Regions from separate parts of the Homo sapiens genome. Here region 2 is linked to region 1. The links are contacts of gene promoters, found by promoter capture Hi-C in human tissues and cell types (Jung and others, 2019). All regions are on one chromosome and are shown on one strand. Each heading gives the region's core, a stretch centred on a gene start or on the middle of the fragment in contact. The rest is flanking DNA. Distances are from core to core; before and after follow the strand shown.

Evidence for each region. Contacts are between HindIII fragments. The study calls those that stand out against the background at their distance.
Region 2: a contact is called between the fragment with the promoter of GDPD3 here and a fragment that was not itself captured in region 1, in 1 of the 25 tissues and cell types used here (dorsolateral prefrontal cortex).

What each region holds. Positions count from the first base shown.
Region 1 is chr16:30,541,647-30,546,363 of GRCh38, forward strand. It overlaps LOC124903677 (a long non-coding RNA gene), which reads right to left. Exons shown (of 2, transcript XR_007065050.1): 2 at 1-129. Among named protein-coding and RNA genes, the nearest start is that of ZNF747-DT, 8.9 kb to the left of the region's middle. RefSeq lists a silencer at 1-156. The HindIII fragment of the contact is 5,019 bases long and covers 376-4,717 here.
Region 2 is chr16:30,110,796-30,115,512 of GRCh38, forward strand. GDPD3 (glycerophosphodiester phosphodiesterase domain containing 3) reads right to left here and starts at 2,742. Exons shown (of 10, transcript NM_024307.3): 1 at 2,545-2,742; 2 at 2,227-2,269; 3 at 1,863-1,998; 4 at 1,728-1,773; 5 at 1,511-1,629; 6 at 1,337-1,426; 7 at 593-726. The coding sequence starts at 2,683. It overlaps MAPK3 (mitogen-activated protein kinase 3), which reads right to left. Exons shown (of 9, transcript NM_002746.3): 9 at 3,310-3,913. RefSeq lists a silencer at 2,713-3,007. The HindIII fragment of the contact is 6,526 bases long and covers 1-4,717 here.

The DNA of each region.
Region 1 (4,717 bases), core at 1,635-4,134:
ACGGAGACGTCATCCCCTCTTCTCCCCTTTCTGCCTTTCTCTTAGGCTTCCTCCTTCCTGGGGATCCTGGGCATTTTGACTCACAGCTGGGCCTCCTCCTACTCCCAGGAGATGAGGGTGTAAGGTCAGCTGAGAGAAAGGAAAAATAGACCTAAAGTTAGGCAGGCAACTTTTTATTAATCTGCCAGCTGCTCCCCTAATAGAGAGGAAGCAGCCCCAAGCTTACAGAATGAGGGGTTTATATTGGGGAGGGGAGTTTGAGGGAGTTCTTTGGTATGGCCGCATCTCGGGGTTGTTTGCTGGTTAATTTTTCTACATATTACCTTGTGACGTTTATTACAGGAGGGTGTAGGTAAAGTTTGTTTATGTTTCCCACAACCTCCCCCTGTGCGGTGTGGATGATTTGTACCTGGGGTTTGCTTATTGCAGCAAGGTCTGATAAGTGAAGTCTGCTGGCTTCACCGCGGCACCTAGATAAGGGCTTAGAAATGTAAAGAGGCTTGGGGGAAGGGTGGGCAGCACCAAGAAGCTTTCTTGGGCAGTTTGTCCCTAACATTCCAGCCCTTTAATAGGTAATAGAAGAGGGGTGCCATTGTCTGGCTGCTTCTTGCTGGGAAGGGGCGACGGTTGTGGGGGAAGGCTGGACAGTAGGGACTACAGTTTTTGGAGCCATTGGTATTCCTGGAGCAGCATTATATCTTGTATTGTCGCATAGGTGAAGGCTCTGATACGGTCCTGTAAAAACTGGGTGAGATGGTGTAGGAGACAAGGGCCGAATGCTAGGAAAAGAAAAATGGTTATGGCCGGGCCTAGAAGGGGCATTAGCTATGGAAACTAGGTATTAAAAGACCAGGAGGGCCACGCTGGCCATCAAGGGATGTTTTCTTTAATTTTTTGTGCTCGGTCCTTTAGTCTTTTTACAGCATGTTGTACTAAGCCAGACTGGTTAAGATAAAAGCAACACTTTTCATCTAGAAAAAGGCAGAGTCCTCCTTTTTCGGCTGTGAGTAGGTCTAAGTCTCTGTGGTTTTGAAGAACCATTGCTGCTAAATAATTTATTTGTGATTGGAGAGTTGTAATGGATTTGGCTATTTTTTCCAAGCTATTTGTGAGGTCTTTGGAGAGGGATTGGTAATAGGAAACGGAGGTGGTTAATCCCGCAATCCCAGTTCCAACTCCTGTAGTTATTCCGAGGTCTACTAATAGAGGTATGAGTTGTATAGCACGGCGGTGTCAGATAGGGGTATTAACGGGGATTGGTAGGGGTTGGTCTCCTGGGGCAACGTTGATTTTTGGACTGAGGAAAACCAGGGTGTGCAGGCGCCCATCCAGTTAGAGGGGAGGCAAATATAAGTTGAGGTACTGCATAGGAAAAGTATGCCTTGGTTTGTTAGAGAGAACTGGTGTGTATGCTAAAAAGATATACATTTTGTTATTTTCATGCATTTATACTTCTGGGGTCCCGGCTAGGGCTGCTGCTGTAAGTGGTTGTAAAGGGGTGTTTGGTTTAGGCTGGGAGGCTTTTGGGTTCTTTTTTTTGCCAGTGTAAGAGGAAGCGTTTTGTTTCCACTAAGATGCATGTGGGAGTGTTGTTGAATGTTGGGAGAAGGAGACAGTCCCGGGTGGTGGGTGTAGGGTAAGGATGGTGCATGGAGAGGGGAGTCAAGGGAAGAGGGATAAACAGGGGAGGTGTTGGCCATTACAGTACCCTTAATTTTTGTTAAGGAGGTGGAGGCTAGAGAAATAAAGCCTGTCTTTTTTGTTGGCGGCTTTGAGAGTAGTATGTTCGGTGGGAGGTTTGAGTTGTAGGGTAAAGTTGCAGTTTGGAATTCAGGTGGCTGAGGGGAATGCCAGAGGGTAGATGTCATTGGATGCACAGCAGTGCTGGATAGGATAAGATTTTGTGGGTTGTTATGGCTCCTAATACGGGTTTATCACAGCTGTGGTAGGGGGATAGGTTGCGTAAATAGGGATGTAAGGTTGTAACAGCTGGACCCAACTCATTAGCTAACTGAGGGGAGATTTCTGTTAATGCCTGCATGTCGAGTTCGAGGGGGCTGTTAATGAGGATTTCGGGATGGTAGGTTACTTGGGTGGAAGTCCAGTTACAGGCTGAGGCAGGGATTGCATTGTATATTGTGGAGAGGAGGGATAGAGGAGGTTCCTGGAGGTAGGGGTTTAGCTTCAATTACTCGGCCAAGGAAAACAACTGCATACCCAGCAATTTTGGGGGAGCCAGTGGGTACGGAAGAGGAGCTATCTATAAATAGCTGGTCATTGGGGTTGGTGAGAGGCTGGGAGGAAATGTTTAGAAAGTGTGGCTGCAGGTGATCTAGGATGTTAGTATAAGAATGAGTAGAAGGGGAAGAAGATACAGGGAGTAAGGATGCTGGGTTGAGGGGAGCACTTTTGAAAAGACTGAATTTGGGATTTTCGATAAAGAAGGCATGGAGTAAGCCGGGCGCGGTGGTTGACGCCTGTAATCCTAGCACTTTGGGAGGCTGAGGCGGGTGGATCACCTGAGGTCAAGAGTTCGGGACCAGCCTGGCCAACATGGTGAAACCCCCTCTCTACTAAAAATACAAAAATTAGCCAGGCGTGGTGGCACACGCCTGTAATCCCAGCTATGCAAGACACTGAGGCAAGAGCGAAACTCCATCTCAAAAAAAAAAAAAAAAAAGGCATGGAGTGATTGAATCCATGAAGGAGAAAGGGAGCCTAATGCTCAGGAGGAGAGGAGATCTTGTAGATTATGAGGACTGCAGACGGTGGTATTCTGGCTGAAAGTTAGTTTCCTGCTTTTTAGAGCTAAAATGGCCACCACTGCTAGTGCTTTAAGGCAGGTTGGCCACCCTTTGACTGTGTCATCTAGTTGTTTAGAGAGGTAAGTTACAGGGGCAAAAGAAGGAGGATTTTTTTCCTGTTGTCCTAAGACATCGAGGGTTATTCCTCAGTTTTTGGAAGTATGGAGAGTGAAAGGTTGGGAGATAATAGGTAAGGACAGAGTTGGTGCAGTGACGAGCGGTTTTGAGTTTGTAGAAGCTGGGGAGTATGTTATGTGAGGGTTTTAGGGGTTCATCGAGAGGGTGTTTGGCCGCTTTATAGAGGGGGCAAGCTAGGAGGGTAAAGTTGAGAATCCATATTCTAAAGAAGCCTGCTAACCCTGGGAAGGAAAGGATTTCTCGTTTGGAAGAGCGCGGGGGGTAGATTATTAATGCTGCTCAGGCTGGGGTCACAGTCCAGGCCCCAGGGGAAGTTGAATTTCTAAGTAGGTTACCATGGAGGTGGAGAATAGTGTGGAGTTTTGAAAAGGGTATCTCTGCCCAGGAGCGGAGTTGGACATGAGGGCAGGACTAAGGAAGAGTGAGTGAAGGAAAAACTGTGCAGGGAGCAGAAGAGTGGAGGGGTGGCTCGGGGTTTGGTGACTTGTCCATCAATTCCTACAACAGAGACCTGGGAGGACTGGGTGGGTCCTGAAAAATTAGGTAAAGCAGAGTAGTTTGTCCCGGTATTAATTTAAAAAATATATATACTGGCCCATTTGCCACCATTAGGGTTATTTTGGCTTGAATGAAGAGATGGTAGTTGCTGGGGGCGTTCATTCCAGGGCACCGTCAAGTCTTCAGTGGCAAGGCCGATGAAATCCGAGTAGGAGGTTTTGGCTGGCTCAGGAGGGGATGGGGGCAGTCCTTGCTGGGGCCACTCACAGTCTGACTTCCAGTGGGGTCCTCCACAGAGGGGGCATGGCCTGGTGGGCTTTCCTGGGTTTGGGCATTGTCTGGACCAGTGGCCTTTATTGCCACACTTGGAACAGGTGCCAGGTGGAAGTGAATTGTTAGGAGGCTTCCATGTGGAGCTGCGGTCCCGTGGGCCTGCAGGGCCTCTAATGGCAAAGGCAAGCATTTGAAACTTTGCCTGTTTTTGCCTTTTATTTTCCTCATTATGATTGTTAAAGATTTTGAAGGCTAAATTAAGAAGGTCTCATTGTGGGGTTTGAGGGCCATTGTCAAGCTTCTGAAACTTGCATCAAATATTGGGAGTGGATTGGGAGATGAACTGAAGGTTTAAAATATTGGGAGACAAACTGAAGGTTTAAAATAGTGTTTCTTTTTGGGCTGGCTGGGTCTGGGTTGGTATATTTTCTCATGGCTTCAGTTAAATCAGAGAGAAAAAGGGCTGGGTTTTCGTTAGGAACCTTGGGTGATTTCTGAAAGTTTTTTATAGTTTACCGCTTTATAGGCAAACTTTTGGAGTCCTGTAAAGAGACATACAATCATGTGGTCTCAATGGTGGCGTCCAGAGGCCCCGTCTTGATAATCCTAGGGTGGTCCTGGTTGGGGACTGCCTTTGCACCAGTAGGCTGGGCAGGAGCCTGGTGATGAATGGTATCAGCATGTGCCTGATCTAGGGTCCAGTTATGGTCTCGGTCTTCTGGGGTGAGGGTAGAAGAGAGGATGATGTAGGGGTTATGCTAGGTTAGTTCATAAGACTGGGTAAGGTACTGAAACTTCCTAATATAAGAGGTAGGGTCTTCTGGAAATGAACCAAGTCTTTTGTTAATTACAGAGAGATCAGTGAGGGAGAAGGGAACATAAACTCTAACAATACTTTCAGCTCCTGCTGCTTCCTGAAGGGGAAGTAAGGGAGCTGGTTGCTGAACATGTTGGGCCCAAGAGCGGGTGAGGGGTGGAGACGGAGAGGAACCAGAGTCAGAAGC
Region 2 (4,717 bases), core at 1,492-3,991, 430 kb before region 1:
CAGGAGGTCGAGGCGCAGTGAGTCATGATCTGGCCACTGCATTCCAGCCCGAGCAAGACTGTCTCAAAAAAAAAAAAAAAATTGTAAAGCAAAGGGAGGGACTAGGCTTAAGTGCCAGCGAAGTATCCAAATTCCTGATCCTTTCCCCAGCTGTTACTTTGTTAACCCCTGCCTTCCTGCAGAACACTGACTTGGCCTTTTCCTGCTGAGGGTCTGAGACAGCCGTGCTATAATTAATGAACGAATGTCTCCCCAGCCAGACTGTAAGCTCACCAAGGACCTCTCCCCACCCTCACTGGTCTCATTTACACATTATAACTGCACCTGGGACAGAGTAGACATTCAATAAAATATGCTAGATGGCCTGAGATGGATAAATTACCTCTCTATCCTAAAACTCCACATATGCACAGAATTTCAGGGTGTTCACAGTTCCCTTAGTATTCATGAATGCTGGGTAAGAACCACTGTCCTTAAAAGACCTTGGGGGTTATCTCTGAGGGGAGCTGGGGAGCTGGGAAGATCTGGGCTCCTTCTCCACGGAGACCCTAAGCAGTGGGGAGTTTTTCTGAGGTCCGCCCCCCACTGGTACCTGTTGATGATGTTGGGCAGGAAGCAGAAGAAGAACTTCTCAGGGATTGGGATGAAGGGCAGCAGCCCCAGGTAGTAGGAAAGCAGCACCCAGAATCCTCGGCTTATTGTGAAGGACAGGGGCATCTCGGGGTTCTGGGGAGGCAAGGAGAGGCATGAGAATCTGTCTGCTCTGGGGAAGCAGAGAGGAGGCATGAGCTGCAGGGGAGCCGTGGTGGGCATTCCAGAGGCCCTACTACCTGCAGGATCCAAGTCACATCTTGGGGCTGGGTGTGGTGGCTCACGCCTGTAACCTCAGCAGTTTGGGAGGCTGAGGCAGGTGGATCACCTGAGATCAGGAGTTCAAGACCAGCCTGGCTAACATGGTAAAACCCCATCTCTACTAAAAATACAAAAATTAGCTGGGCGTGGTGGCGTGCACCTGTAATCCCAGCTACTCGGGAGGCTGAAGCATGAGAATCGCTTGAACCCAGGAGGCAGAGGTTGCAGTGAGCCGAGGTCGCACCACCGCACTCCAGCCTGGGCGACAGAGAGAGACTGTGTTTCAAAAAAGAAAAAAAACAAAAGTCACATCTTGGCTCTGTGTTCGAGGCCTGAGTTCACACCCTTTTCATTGCCACCGCCACGCCACTGGGAACTCTCCCAGACCCCTCTAGCTCGGGTCCCCATGCTGGGTGGGCTCCAGCTCTGGGGAGGAGGGGCCCCTGGAGGAGGAAGAGGACGGGGGAGGGGTGGGGGGACTCACGGCAGCCTTGCATTTCTTCATGACCGAGCTCTTCTCCGAGGCCCAGATGGTGATTTCATTACGGTCATAGCGTCTCACCAAGCCTGCTATCTGGGAGGAGGAGAAGGAGGTGAAGGGAGAGCCAGGCCTCTCTCACGCCCCCGGTGGCCGCCCTAGCCCTGCCTGCAGCACCACCTCACGGATGAGCTCTTCGTTCTTCCCTTTGATCTCTACGCTCATGGGTGTCCTTGGAAACCTCTGGAACAGGTCCTCCAGACGAACCATGCGCCGGTCTGACCCGTGAGCAAAGTGGCCTGGGGGTGGTGTGGGAAAAGGGGTCAGAGGGAAGCCAAGGCGGAGGTCCAAGGAAGGCAGGCATGGCCCAGGCAGGGCTCGAAGCCCTTGCTCTCACCTGGAGAGAAGTAAACCTCCAGCTTCTCCTTGTAGAGGGGCAGGTCCTGGGGAGGACAGGAAGGATGTCACTAGAGGCCCGCATTGGGCATGGTGACTCTCAGGGTGGGGGTTGGGGTGTCAGGGCAGGGCCCACCTCGAAGTCCAGGCTGCCCACATCCCTGTTTAGGCCCGACTGGCGGCACAGGTTCTCATCATGTGACACCACCACCACTCTGTCCCGTGTCAGCTGACAGTCGAGCTCCAGGAGGTCCGAGCGCTGGGCCATGGAGCTGTGGGGGTGAAGGTCAGCGGGGGGCAGGGGCAGGGGACTGGGATGAGGGGCATGGTGGCTGGGAGGTGGCCGGGAATGTGAGAGCGGAGTTCGTGGCGGGATGTGCAGGCCACCTCCAGGGGGCGCCAGTCACCCAGCTAGGAAGTGAATGGCGTCCCTTGCTGTGATGCAGTCCACGACCTGCACACCCTCACATGGCAGCCTGGGCAGGGGCAGATACACTCACTTCTCCATGGCCTCCATGGTGTTCTCCAGCAGCTCTCCAGATCCTGTGGGGGGCACTGGAGTGGGCCTCTGGGGCTTGGGGTCTAGGGGCCTGGCCCAACCTCATCACCCACATTCCCTCTCTGGGCTCCATCCTCCCTCTGGCCTCACCTCCCCAGCCAGCCCAGGCTGCGCCAGCATCTTCTTCCTCGTCCACACCCTGCCCTGCCACTTCGCTCTCCTTCTCTCTTGGTCCCTGCCCCGTTTCTAGCATGCCCCCTTGGACCTACCCCTCTGTGCTGTCCACTTTGGCACCTGTTCTCACCCCTACCCGGCTCACCTCCTCGGTGGGCCCCCAGGCGGATGCGGAAGGTGGGAGCCCTGGGCGTGTGCAGCAGATGAGGCCGGCGCAGGAAGAAGATGGAGAGCATGGCATAGCTGCCCAGGGCAGGGAGGGCATAGTACAGCAAAAGGCTCATGACCGTACTCCCACAGAAGCTCCTGCAGCCACACGCTCAGCCGTCCGCGGGACTGTGCTGCCTGCCTAGCCAGTGTGGGCCGGCTCTACTACTGGCCACTGCCACGCCCCTGGGACCTGCTGAGCCTGCCGCTGGGCTGGCTTGGAGCCAGGCTGCAGGGTTCGGCTGAAGCTGGGGTAGTGTCAGGAGGTGAGGCAAGTAGCCCTGGCTCTCATATCCCCAGGCCCTTCCCAGCCCCCAGCAGCCCCGTCCTGGGCTACATGAGGGGAGTAAAAACCACCCAGGACTGTCAGGACCTCTCCCTCTCACTGGTACTTGTAGCCAGCGCATCCAACATGCCTACCCCTTGCCATTTCAGAGGATCCAGGGGTGTGTAGGGTGCTCCTGAGTCACCCCGAATCACCCCCAGCCAGTTAGACAGGAAGCCATTAGCGAGAGGACAGGACAGTGACTAAGGGGAAAACTGACCCCCTTCTTTCTAGGAGTCTGGAGCTCTCCAGAGCCCCGTCCCCAGCCCTGGGCAGCTGGGAGTGAAGGGCACCAGGCCCCTGAAAGCCCAAGTCAAGTCTGTCCTCAGAGCCGCACGGGGCAGGGCGGGGGCGTCGCGAACACAGACAGAGCCAGGGTCAGCCATAGACACATCTCTATATTTATATATTAGACGGGTCAGGGAGGTGGCAGGGGCGCCGGGCTCTCCACGCCCCCCAGCTCCACTTCTGCTCACCACACACAGAAGCAGCGAGGGCACGCGAAGTGACAGCTTTGACAGGGAGGGGATTCGGCCCGGCCTGGCTCCTCAGGGATGCTAGCCCTTGAGACTAAGGAATGTTCCTTCAGGGAAACTAGGGTGGGGTTTGAATGAGATGAGGGGGGCAGGCATGGCCCTGAGTCCCTACTCAGCGCCCCCCACCCTCCACCTCTGCCCTTCAGCAGGTTGGGGCAGCCAGAACCCTTCCATTCCAGAACTGCCAGAGACTGGGACGCTGGGGAAGGTAAGGGCGCAGCAGCAGCAGCGGGAGATTGAACTGGGGCCACCTGAGGTCCCGAGGCCCCGTGGGGAGGGCGGGTGGGGAGGAGAAGGCCTTGGCCTGCCTGAAGCTGGAGGCCTCAGCAAAGGAGAGAGGTGGCCAGGCCCATGCTCCACCCCGGCCTGGGCTGCCAAGGTCCGGGCTGGGCACAGTGTCCATTTTCTAACAGTCTGGCGGGAGAGGGGCAGGCAGGAGGCAGGTCCTAAAGAGAGAAGCAGGCAGAAGAGGAGTCGTTAGCACCCCCCGGGCAGACCCACTGGAGCCCTGACCTCAACATCTCTCATTTCACCCTCACAGCTGGATAGGCTGGGTCTCAGTTTCCTTATCTGTAAATGGAGATAATAATAGTACCTAGCTTGAGGTACTGCTGTAAGATTAAAGGAATTAATACATGTAAACCTCTTAGAACAATGCTTAGGGCTTTATGCTTTCATTATTAGAACTGTCTCGGCCGGGCACAGTGGCTCACGCCTATAATCCCAGCACTTTGAGAAGCTGAGGTGGTGGATCGCTTGAGCCCAGGAGTTTGAGACTGGCCTGGGCAACATAGCAAGACCCCAGCTCCACAAAAAAAAAAAAAAAAAATTAGCCGGTTGCAATGGCTCGTCCAGCTAGCTGGGAGGATCCCTTGCACCCAGGAGTTTTGAGGCTGCAGTGAGCTATGATTGCACCACTGCATTCCAGCCTGGGTGACAGAGCGAGACACTGTCTCAAAAAAACAAAACCAAAAAAAAAGATAAATAGATTGACTCCGGAAACTGAGGCGCCGAGAGGTGAGGTGCCTTGCCCAATATCACACAGCACTTACTAAGTGGCACAGCTGGAGTTTGAGCCCAGGTGCGCATGCCTTCTTTCTATCAGGCCACACCTGGCTGAAGACAGGAAGAGACCGGAGGAGGCAAGGAGGCAGCGTGGGTGGGGGCAGGCCAGTGGGGTCCCCACAGCTATGTGAACTGCTGATCTGGCAGCAGGTGTGAGGAGGCCTGGCAATCTGGGTCAGGCTGGG